2 separate regions of the Homo sapiens genome follow, and region 2 is linked to region 1. Evidence: promoter capture Hi-C in human tissues and cell types (Jung and others, 2019). All regions are on one chromosome and are shown on one strand. The core of a region is centred on a gene start or on the middle of the fragment in contact, and the rest is flanking DNA. Distances in the headings are between cores, read along the strand shown.

Region 1 (2,536 bases), core at 10-2,509:
AAAAAAGACGTTTCATTAAATATCTGTTCCTGTTTTTATATCTTCCCCGTTGGCCCCAAAGTGCTCCTTGCCTATTAGCCTAGTTGGCACCTTGTTACAGGTTGCACCCACCTTTGGCTCTTAGTTTCTTAATTGTTCACTGCTTATAGCTTTTTTGTAAGCAAATCAGATTTCTGTAATACAGCCGTAAAGTTAGAGATATATAGATCTGTATTTTTATTTACCTACAGTAAGTGTGGTGTGGAAGGAGAGGGAATTTGAACAAAGATCAGATAGGTTGTGGTTCCATGCTTGTGGAGTGGCCCTCCGTTGGTGGGGCTGGAAGTGCGTGGGTGCAGGGGCGGGGTGGGGTCCCTCTAAGCTGGCAGGGTCGGGGCAGCAACTTGTAGGGCACTCAGAGCAGCCTCTCCAGCTCCTTCTGCCCTGCCCGCAGCTCATGATGGAGCAGTCCAAGAAGTCCTCCCTCATGGTGGCCCGCAGTATTCTCAACAACAAGCTCATCAGCAAGAAGCTGGAGCGCTACCTGAAGGTGAGGCACTGGTCCGGGCCTGCCCTGTCCCCAGCTTAGTCCCCGCCTGTGCTCCCTCCCTTCAGTGTCCGCGCCCCTCCCCACAGGGCGAGAACCCTTTCACCGACAGCCCCGAGGAGGAGAAGGAGCAGGAGGAGGCTGAGGGCGGTGCCCTGGACGAGGGGGCGCAGGGCGAAGCGGCAGGGATCTCGGAGGGCGCAGAGGGCGTGCCGGCGCAGCCTCCCGTGCCCCCAGAGCCAGCCCCCGGGGCCGTGTCGCCGCCACCGCCGCCGCCCCCAGAGGAGGAGGAGGAGGGCGCCGTGCCCTTGCTGGGAGGGGCGCTGCAACGCCAGATCCGCGGCATCCCGGGCCTCGACGTGGAGGACGACGAGGAGGGCGGCGGGGGCGCCCCGTGACCCGAGCTCGGGGCGGGCGGAGCCCGCGTGGCCGAAGCTGGAAACCAAACCTAATAAAGTTTTCCCATCCCACCTCCGGGTTTCTCTGTTACTGTGCCGCGCGGGCGGGGCGGGGTGGGCAGAGGGGCGGGGTGCGCATGCGCGCGGGCCGGGCCGTCGGGCACCGCGGTGGGACCACAACTCCCATTAGGCCACGGAGCTGGATCGTAGCAGCCCGAAAGGCCAGCTGGGACGGCGAGGGCGGGCCCTCGTGAAGACCAGCCAATGGGGGCGCGCGGAAGTAGTGACGTGTGCGCCTGGTCTTCCAGTAGTCGATGGCGGAGGTGCGCTGAACGCATGCGTGCTGTGGTCGCCTAGTAAACGGGGCTGCTGGTGGGCCGCGTCGAAGACATGGACCAGGGCTACGGAGGTTTGTGTTGGCTGCTGGGTGCGGAGCGGGGAGGGAAGGCTCTGTGCGGGCGACGCAGCCGCTGCGCAGACTGCCGCCGGCCGGGCCTTCGTCCCGAGCGTGGTTGCCCCAGCTGGGCCCTCCGGAGAGGCGGCCAGGGCGCGCGCGCGCCGCTCATTGGGCTTTGGCGCCGTCGCTCCCGGGGCTCTGCGTGCGGATTGGCCGCCAGGCCCCGAGGAGGCGGGCGGGACTCGGGGTTGGGGCAGACGCCGCGGTGGGCTTCGTGGGGGCGTCTTAGACAGTGTGGGCCGTTTTTGCCCCTCACCTTCGGCGGAGTCCTTCCGGCCCCCAGCGACCCCGGGGTTTGCACTCCCGGCTTCCTCTTCCGAAGACGCCACAAAATGGCGGCGCTAGGGGGGCGGAGCTACAGCGTGGGGTTGTGAGGTCGGACCCGGGGAGCTGGGTCTGGGGCCGCGGGCGGACCGCGGGGGCCGCCTCTCTCCCGACCTGCCCTAGGCCCGCGGGGCCGTGTAGGGTCTCCGCTGGGCTCACGTGGCCCAGGGCGCCTGTCCCGGAAGCCGTCGGGCTGCGCGGGGTCGGGCCTTTAGTCCCCGGTGCAGCGCGGTGGGGCCGAGTGCTGCCGGCGCGAGAGTCAGCCTCGCCGGGCTCCAGCTCTGTACCCGGCGCGTGCTGGCTTGGGACAGGATGGTGAGGGGCAGATGCTGAGTGTTCGTATAAAGCTGGAAACCTGATGTGCCCTGGGGCTGGTGACATTGGCAGTTCTCCTTTAGGCAGTCTGTTGTGGTGGCCTGGAGGGGCCGAGGGGCTGTGCAGGAGGGAACGTGTCCTTTCCCCACTAGGATTTAGCGCTTGGCCTGCAGTAGGGCCGATCTTCTCGAGCTGCCTGCTCCCTGCTTCTGGAATCAGAGCCTTTTGGGAGCAAAGTTTGCCCACAGGGGATAGTTGGGACATGCTGGGTGGAGCTCGACTGGTTGTAGAGAAGCTAGTGGTCTGATCCTGGCTGCAGGAGCTCGAGAAGTTGTCGATCTTGAGAAGTGGCAGGGCAAAAGTATCCCAGCACCAGAAATTGCAGAGAGAGGTTTCGGTCCTGAGGCGGCAGCGTGCGCGGTGTGCTTTGGTGTCTTCCGGGTCCTAGCGAAGGCTCAGCCTGGCTCTCCTGGTCTTCCGCAGCCTGGGTAGATTTCACCATTCTTTCCCTTCTTT
Region 2 (2,536 bases), core at 12-2,511, 260 kb after region 1:
AAAAATTAGCCGGGCGTGGTGGCGGGCGCCTGTAGTCCCAGCTACTTGGGAGGCTGCGGCAGGAGAATGGCGTGAACCCAGGAGGTGGAGCTTGCAGTGAGCCAAGATCGTGCTACTGCACTCCAGCCTGGGTGACAGAGCAAGACTCCGTCTCAAAAAAAAAAAAAAAAGTGGCAGAGCCCAGACTCGAGCCCTCTCCTTCCTCCTCCTTTCCTTCCCTCACATCTTTGTCCTTTTCTTTCTTTTTTTTTTTTTTTGAAACAGATTCTTCGTTCTGTTGCCTAGGCTTGAGTGCAGTGGCGTGATCTCGGCTCACTGCAACCTCCGCCTCCCCCTGGGTTCAAGTGATTTTCCTGCCTCAGCCTTCTGAGTAGCTGGGACTACAGGCGCCCGCCACCACACCTGGCTAATACTTGTATTTTTAGTAGAGACGAGGTTTCATCATGTTGGCCAGGCTGGTCTTGAACTCTTAACCTCAAGTGATCCACCCTCCTCGGCCTCTCAAACATTACAGACATGAGCCACTGCGCCTGGCCTCTTCTCTTCTTCTTCTTCCTTTCCTTTCTTCTCCTCCTCCTCTTCCTCTTCTTCCTCCTTCTCTCCCTTCCCCTCAGTCCCTTCCCTTTGCCTGTCCTTGGCCCTTCCTTTCCATACATTTAGCGAGCGGCAGCCATGTGCCAGGTTCCAGGACAGGCACGGGGCATCATCAGTGGACAAGGTAGTCAGGCTCCTGTACTCCGGATGTGTGTGAAGCGCCTGAGGGTCAGCTCAGGCAGTAGTGATTTTGTTCTATGGCCTCTTTATTTTTTTTGAGACGGAGTCTCGCTTTGTCCCCCAGGTTGGAGCGCAGTAGTGCGATCTTGGCTCACTGCAACCTCCACCTCCCGGGTTCAAGTGATTCTCCTGCCTCAGCCCCCGGAGTAGCTGGGAATACAGGTGCAGTCCACCATACCCAGCTAATTTTTGTATTTTTAGTAGAGATGAGGTTTCACCATTTTGGTCATATAGCCTCATTCTTAATGCACTTTGCCCCCTGGCTTCCCAGTCAGTCCCTCCCCTTGTTCTCCTTGCCCCTCTCTCTTGGGCTGCCTCTCACAAGGCTATCTCTTATCTTGCCTTTTTTGTTTTGTTTTGTTTTGAGACAGGGCCTCACTCTATCACCCAGGCTGGAGTGCAGTGGTATGATCATAGCTCACCACAGCCTTGAACTCCTGGCCTCGAGCAATCCTCCTGCCTCAGCCTCCCTTGCCTTTTCTTTACTTGCGGGGCTTCCCACGGTTCCATCCTGGGCTGCTTCTGTGCTGTCTTGGCCTGTCCTTAACGGTGAAAGCAGAGGCTTCTGACTCTGAGCTCCGACTGTTTCCTGCCAATGCCCATGTGTCTGTCTTTCGCTGGATAGAGCGCCCCCTGAGGGGAGGGCTGGGCAGGATCTATCTTTGTGTCTCCAGGGCCCTGCACAGGTCCTTCAGGAAAGTTGGGGCCCTGGGGCCCAGTGAGCAAGGAGACCGAGAAGACCCTGTTTGAAGCAGGAGAGGACAGTGTTCAGAACTCCCATGCAAAGCGCCTCATGTCCTAAGTGGACAGATCCTTGAACCTGGGGAGGGAGGTTCATATTTACATTGACAGAGGTGGAAGCTCAGAAGGGTGAAGTCACTTGCCCTAAGTTGCACAGCTAGGAAGTGACAGAGCCAGGACTTGAGCTCACATCTGTTGGACCCACAGGCTTAATCCTGGCATGCTGAGCCTGCGTTCCTTGCTTCTGGGGGGCTACGTGGAGTTGGGGTGGACCCCAGAGGCTACCGAGGGCAAACAGGCAGTTGAAGACCTGGCCACTAGGGTTCGTCTGTCCCTGAGGTGTCACTCATCCACCCTGTCCCCATGCCACTTTGCTCCTGGCTTTTCTCCCGGCCCCTTTCCTTGCTCAGATCCTGGAATCCTTGTAGTTAGTTAATTCTGGCAACTTGGTTTCTTCCCCCTCCCTTTTGCAGGTATTTAGAGAATTACCTGGCCAACCTCTTTGCAGGAGCCTGGGAGCCTCAGCCCGAGGGACCGCTGCCCCTGGACATCCCCCAGGCTTCCCCGCAGCAGGTGAATTGCCTCTCTTTTGTGTCTGAGGACCCTACCCTCTCCCTGAGGGGAGAGGGCCCCCTGACCCTCTCCCTGAGTCAGTACTGGGGCCTTAATCTTGGGTGCTCATGGCGACTCAAGGGCGGCCCTTTGGCTGGACGCGGTGGCTCACAGCAGCAATCCCAACACTTAGGGAGGCCGAGGCAGGCGGATCACTTGAGGCCAGGAGTTCAAGACTAGCCTGGCCAACATGGTGAAACCCTGTCTCTACTGAAAATACAAAAGTTAGCCAGGCATGGTGGCACGCGCCTGTAATCCCAGCTACTCTGGAGGCTGAGGCGGGAGAATCGTTTGAACCTGGGAGGTGGAGGCTGCAGTGAGCTGAGATCATGCCATTACACTCTATCCTGGGCAACAGAGTGAAACTGTGTCTCAAAAAAATAAATAAATAAAAAGACAGCCCTTTGAT

What was found. Contacts are between HindIII fragments. The study calls those that stand out against the background at their distance.
Region 2: a contact is called between a fragment that was not itself captured here and the fragment with the promoter of AKAP8 in region 1, in 2 of the 25 tissues and cell types used here (adrenal gland and spleen).

Annotation. Positions count from the first base shown.
Region 1 is chr19:15,378,510-15,381,045 of GRCh38, reverse strand. It overlaps AKAP8 (A-kinase anchoring protein 8), which reads left to right and starts at 1,259. Exons shown (of 14, transcript NM_005858.4): 1 at 1,259-1,333. The coding sequence starts at 1,315. AKAP8L (A-kinase anchoring protein 8 like) reads left to right here. Exons shown (of 14, transcript NM_014371.4): 13 at 434-529; 14 at 616-996. The coding sequence ends at 924. RefSeq lists silencers at 634-1,123, 1,464-2,013 and enhancers at 288-1,202, 974-1,268, 1,203-2,118. The HindIII fragment of the contact is 19,214 bases long and covers 1-2,536 here.
Region 2 is chr19:15,119,534-15,122,069 of GRCh38, reverse strand. It overlaps HACL2 (2-hydroxyacyl-CoA lyase 2), which reads left to right. Exons shown (of 16, transcript NM_006844.5): 7 at 1,989-2,088. Among named protein-coding and RNA genes, the nearest start is that of ILVBL-AS1, 3.4 kb to the left of the region's middle. The HindIII fragment of the contact is 6,371 bases long and covers 1-2,536 here.